Regions from separate parts of the Homo sapiens genome. Here region 2 is linked to region 1. The links are contacts of gene promoters, found by promoter capture Hi-C in human tissues and cell types (Jung and others, 2019). All regions are on one chromosome and are shown on one strand. The core of a region is centred on a gene start or on the middle of the fragment in contact, and the rest is flanking DNA. Distances in the headings are between cores, read along the strand shown.

Evidence for each region. Contacts are between HindIII fragments. The study calls those that stand out against the background at their distance.
Region 2: a fragment that was not itself captured here is called in contact with the fragment with the promoter of USP48 in region 1 in 1 of the 25 tissues and cell types used here (dorsolateral prefrontal cortex).

The regions. Positions count from the first base shown.
Region 1 is chr1:21,781,739-21,784,558 of GRCh38, reverse strand. It overlaps USP48 (ubiquitin specific peptidase 48), which reads left to right and starts at 1,410. Exons shown (of 27, transcript NM_032236.8): 1 at 1,410-1,735. The coding sequence starts at 1,602. RefSeq lists enhancers at 1,027-1,076, 822-1,592, 2,017-2,116, 1,593-2,364, 2,677-2,726 and a silencer at 1,287-1,646. The HindIII fragment of the contact is 7,275 bases long and covers 1-2,820 here.
Region 2 is chr1:21,323,028-21,326,078 of GRCh38, reverse strand. It overlaps a transcript of ECE1 not described here. Among named protein-coding and RNA genes, the nearest start is that of ECE1-AS1, 31 kb to the right of the region's middle. RefSeq lists an enhancer at 1,802-2,362. The HindIII fragment of the contact is 5,859 bases long and covers 1-3,051 here.

The sequences.
Region 1 (2,820 bases), core at 161-2,660:
ACTCACCCGTTAAAAGCGGGCTTCGGAATTACTTCTGGGAAGCCTTTTCTCAAGTACCCCGAAGCCTCCCAAGACTGGGATGGGGATCTTTGTATTTCTACCGCTCACTCCCTAACCCACTTCCAAGGGCAGGGACCACATCTTACTTTCTTCTGCCTTCAGCGAATTTTTTTGTTTTTTTTGAGACGGAGTTTTACTCTTGTTGCCCAGGCTGGAGTGCAATGGCGTTATCTCGGCTAACCACAACCTCCGCCTCCCGGGTTCAAGCGATTCTCCTGCCTCTGCCTCCCGACTAGCTGGGATTACAGGCATGCGCGACCGCGCCTTGCTAATTTTGTATTTTTAGTAGAGACGGGGTTTCTCCATTTTGGTCAGGCTGGCCTCGAACTCCTGACCTCAGGTGATCCGCCCACCTCGGCCTCCCAAAGTGCTGGGATTGGATCCTTGAGCCACGGTGCTCGGCCCAGTGAATGTTTATCTAAAGAATTCAGCCTAAGGTTTTCCAGCAGGCAAGCAGCTGAGTCAGAAGTTAGCGCTTAGATTCTGGCAGAGCTCTAATTCAAATTCAAAATTCTTAAATATCCTCACTTTAGTAGAGTTCTTTACAGTTTGCAAAACAATTCTCATAAAGCTACTCTTTATGTCCTGGGGCAGGAGTCGCAGAAAGGAAATGTTTTAAACCAGGAGCTAGAGAGGAACTAGAAAATCCTGGCATAGAGGTAACAGTCTTGAGAAGGGAGCCAACAGCAAACATGACCTTGCGCACCAGAGAAACTCCACCCTGGCACCTCGGACCCCCGCCCGCACAGTCTGCGGCGCACTGAGCACTCCCACCTCGAAGACTACAAATCCCAGCATGCCTCACAGTCAGTGGCAGGACGCAGGGCATGCCGGGACACGTAGTCCCACCCTAGCACGGGAAAAGGCCGGAAGGTCCCATGACGTCAGGAGGGCTCGGGAAAGGGGTTCGGAACCGGTCTAGGCTCAAGTTAAATCTCCCTCTAAAGAGCCAACACTGGTTTCTTTGGCGACTCGGTTTCTACTCTAAACAGGTCCCGCTCCACAGTCTGGGCGGGCCTGTGTGTGCGTTGAGTAGCCTCTAGCGTGAAAACTTCATGGTTAAAAGGGAAGTACCGGAGGCAAGAAATAGCTTTCGAGGCACTGGTTTGTTAGAGTAGTGGTACGTAGTGCGCCGCCCTGAACGGGGGCTGAGACGCTGCTTTTCCAGAAGTGCCAGTGAGGACGTGGCAAGACCGCCTCGGACGTACGCTTCCTCTACCTCAGCCCGTCGGGTTAGGGGCGCGGGAGGCGCAGAGGCTGCTGGGAACGCGCATGCGCTCAGCGCGGCGGGGAGTCCACCTTTAACGTCCGCGGGCGCGGGGTGTGTCGGGTGTCGACGGCGGCGCTTTGCGGCCGGTCGTGCGGGTCGGGCGCGGGCGGGCGCGGCGGCAGTGGCGCGCACAGGTGATTGACTGGCCAGCTGCCTGAAGGAGCGCCAGGTCCTCCTTGCTGGCAGGTGGCGAAGCCCATTGGGGCGGCGGTGCAGACCGCGGCGGCGGCTGCGGCGGTCTGGCTCGGGAGGCGTTCCTGGGGCCAAGGCCATGGCCCCGCGGCTGCAGCTGGAGAAGGCGGCCTGGCGCTGGGCGGAGACGGTGCGGCCCGAGGAGGTGTCGCAGGAGCACATCGAGACCGCTTACCGCATCTGGCTGGAGCCCTGCATTCGCGGCGTGTGCAGGTGAGGCCCGCGCACCGCGCCTCGCGGGCTCCTCGCGCCGGACCTTGGAAAGCCCGGGCGGGGTAGGGGAAAGGAAGACGGCAGCCCTTTGCGTGCATTTGGGAGGCGCGGAGCCGAGCGAGGTGGAGTTTCCCCCTTTGCGCCGTCTGCGCGACCTGGGAAACGCAGGCTTCCCGGGCTGTGCGCGGAGGTGATGCTGGCCAAAGCACTTTAGGAAGGTTTGGGTTCCCATCCAGAAGATGGCGGTGGAGATGAAGGCAGGAGCTGAGAGCTTAGCAAGCGTTGATGGTTGGGGTATCTTGGCCACAGCACGGCTCTTTCGTTTGTAAAAAGGAACTTTTTGGAAGTGAGCTTCATCACAGTGTATCTTGTTGGTGTTGACACCGAAGGCCTGATCATCTTAGTATTATTTTTGTAGAGGGCAGCTTTAGAAAAAACTGTGGTCAGCCTACGTCATCGATACCCTGCACCCCCGTTGGCCTTCCCTCACTCGTTAATCTAGTATTTTTTTTAAGCCTTTCTTTGGTCGTTCTGGTTCGACACCAGTTTACCGAGTACCAAGTTTAAGCTGTGATAGTGCTGTCCTTCACGTCTGCGCCGCCCTTGAACTTTACCTTTCCTTAACCCCCTCATATAGATTGAATCCTTAGGCTTTGCTCCCGTTTATTCCCTTTTTTCCACCTTGTAACGCGGGAACTATAGTTTTTGTTTCAGAATGTTGTTGAAATTGACTTGGCCAAGCCGGGCATGCTCAGTAGCCGTCTTTCGGCAGGCATTTAGGAAATGCTTTCTGGAGTTTTTACATTCCGCTGGGGGATCCGGAAGGAATGGAAGTCATGGTCTCTGGCTTTGGAGCTTAAAGTCTAGTATGAGAAGTGAAATAAGTTAGGGAGTTTCTATAAAGCAAACGAATAAGTCCAAGCTCTGGGCGTCTGTCTCACAAGGAGGGTAAATCTGACTTTAACAGTAAGTTCTGGAATGTTTGAAGTCTGTGTATAATAGAAATAATCAAGCTTCAGTCAGTTTCTCAACGTAATTAGTTTCCAGACTAACCAAATAATGTAAACTACTAATAGTTCTGGTGG
Region 2 (3,051 bases), core at 169-2,668, 460 kb after region 1:
GCCCCCTGGTCCCCACACCCCACTGGGTCCAGGTGAGGCCATTTTAGGACAAGTCAAAGAAAGCCCCCTTCCCACAGCCGGGAGCTCCGTTGTGGAAATCACTGCGCTAGGGGAAGCTGGCAGCAAGTTTGGAAACAAGGTGGCTGGCGAAAGTGCCACCGGCAGCTTCGGAGAGCAGCCGGGGCACCCCTTGAGCCTCTGGGTGGCGTCGGGACAGTAGGCAGGACTCCCTGTGTGTTGATGCTCTGCTGCCGCCCCTTCTCGTTGCTTCTCGTACCTGTTTCATGTCTGCTCCGTGGAGCAGGAGGTGGGAACCACAATTTATTGAGCATTAACTTTGAGCTAAGCTGTGTGCTGAGCAATGAATGCATTGACTCAATTCATACCTCAGTCAGCTCCAAGGAAGTGGGTCCTATTGTGTCCCCATTTAATAGGTGAGGAGGCTGAGGCTTGGTGAGGTGAGGTGACTCGGCCAAGGCCACACAACTCCTGACTCTGTTTTTGCAGGCTTCTGTAGAGCATCTGACTTCAAGGCTGAGTGTGTTTTGCTTGTGGCTGAAAAAGACCAGGGACAGCGAGGAGGGAGGAGGCCAGCAAAAGAGGATGAGAAGCCTGCATGGGGAGCAGGGAGTGCCCTTTCTGGTGTGGGGACAGGCAGCTGGAAGCAAATTTCAATCTGGATGAGGAACTGGCACTGTTCTGTCCTCTGGCCCCTCTTGCCCCTTAATTGTGACGTTACTTCTCACCGCTGAAGGGGAACCGCTCGAGACGCTGGCTTGTCCTGGCACCTGCCTTGAGCAGAAGCTCAGAGAAAGATGCATGGAGGGAAAGAGTGGGGAGCAGAAACAAGCCATCAGGTACCAGGTTGGTGGTCCTGGAGCCAGTTTATGGTTCATCTAGTCACAAGGGCCCCGTCTCTGTGTTTAGTGTCAGCTAATGAAGAAATTGAATCCAGTACACAAAATTGGATTTTGCAGTTTTGCAACCAGTCTCAACCCCCCTCTATTGTGTAACGTGTTTCTTTAGAGAAGGAAACCCACAACAAAACATGTGTGCTTTCCTCCTGGCGACCTCTGATACCTCCATTGAAGACATGGCTTAACGAGAACTGTTTTTCTCCTTCTTTCGTGATTTGTGACTTTTCTTGCAGGCTCCAGGTGGCAGTGAGTCAGCCATAAAGCTCGTTCAGGAAAGTCCAGAGGAATTTTTCTTCTGCATCAGGTTCAACTTGAGCAGTGCTGGGTGACGCCCAGTGACACACTCGGTTGGGGAAGGAGAGGCTGGCACACTCCACTAGCTGCTTATCTCTGCCACCTCCGCCTCCATTTGTCCCTGGCTTCCTGGGGCCCAGAGCCATCTCTGCCAGAGCAGGGAGGCCGATTAAGTGACCCGCGGGCTCCTTCTGCCTGACTCAGCTCAGCTCCAGCCCTCTCTGGGGAGAATGAGTCATTTTTTCAACCCTGAAATGTTTCTCTTCATGTGGGAAAGGGGCGGGGGTGGGGAGAGCCCCTCCTGGTCCTCTCCAAACTTGTTCCTCAGCTCTGAGGGACACTTCAGCCACAGACAAAGGGATTCTAGGGCAGCTCTGGAGAGGGCAGTCAGACCTGAAGTCAGTAAACCACAGCTGTGGCAGCCGTTGGAGTCTCCCTGGACAGAAGCACACTGGGCTGAGTGGGTGGAGTGTCCCTGTCAGTCCCGCACTGATGGATGGTTTCTCCCTTGGGGATGGGCCTCTGCCCCCTGCTTCCTCTGCCCACCCAGTTAAGAAGCTATATGAGCCCGGGTGTGGTGGTGCACATCTGTAGTCCCAGCTACTTGGGAGGCTGAGGCAAGAGGATCGCTTGAGCCCAGGAGGTCAAGGCTGCATGAGCTATGGTCGAGGCTGCATGGGCTATGGTCAAGGCCGCACTCCAGCTTGGGCAACAGAGTGAGACCTTGTCTCTTTAAAAACAAAACAGGCCGGGTGAAGTGGCTCATGCCTGTAATCCCAGCACTTTGGGAGGCTGAGGCAGGTGGATCACTTGAGGTCAGGAGTTTGAGGTCAGCCAGACCAACATGGCAAAAACCCATCTCTACTAAAAATACAAAAAAATTAGCCGGGCATGGTGGTGCATACCTGTAATCCCAGCTACTCAAGGAGGCTGAGGCAGGAAAATAGCTTGAAACCCGGGTGGTGGAGGTTGCAGTGAGCCGAGATTGCACCATTGCACTCCAGCCTGGGCAATGGAGTGAAACTATGTCTCAAAAAAAAAAAAAAAAGAAAGAAAATTGCCCCCATCTCCCATTTTCTGTCTCCCTTCACTACCTCATTGCTCCCCTTAGCCCCTCCCACAGTCTAACATGCTGCATATTTGATTTGTCTTATTTATTCTGTCTCCTACTAGCATATAAGTTTCATGAAGGCAAGGCTTATTTTATTTTATTTTATTTTATTTTATTTTATTTTTAGTTTTTTGGGACGGGGTGCCACTCCGTTACCCAAGCTGGAGTGCAGTGGCACAATCACAGCTCTTTGCAGTCTCGAACTCCCAGGCTCAGGTGATCCTCCCATCTCAGCCTTCCAAAGTGCTGGGGTTACAGGCATGAACACTGCACTTGGCCCAAAGGCAAGGATTTTGTCTGTTTTGTTTCCTGCTATATCTGTCGAGAACAGTGCTAACACGTAGTAGGCACACGATTTTAAAGAGGGTAAGAGGAAAATGAATGAGTGAATGGATGTGAGCCCCTGGCAGAGTATCCGGCCTGCAGTCAGGGCTATTGTGTATTTTGATCCATAACCCTCCCCCCGCCGGTTCCAGCTGTGTTGTTCTGGGAGGCTAGGGCCTTTCTCCACCTACGCCCTCAAGGTCAGCTTATCCACTCTTGAGGTTTCATGCTTAATTTTTATATTTGAGCTTCTCATACCAGTGTGTGAGATTGCCCTGGGGATCAGAGTAGGGTACTTGCATCATAAAATAAAAAGGTACTATTTTGGAGCAGAATGCAGAATTGGCATGAATTTTTGAGATTCAAAAGGAAATGAGACTTAAGCTTTTTTCACAGCTTTTAGCT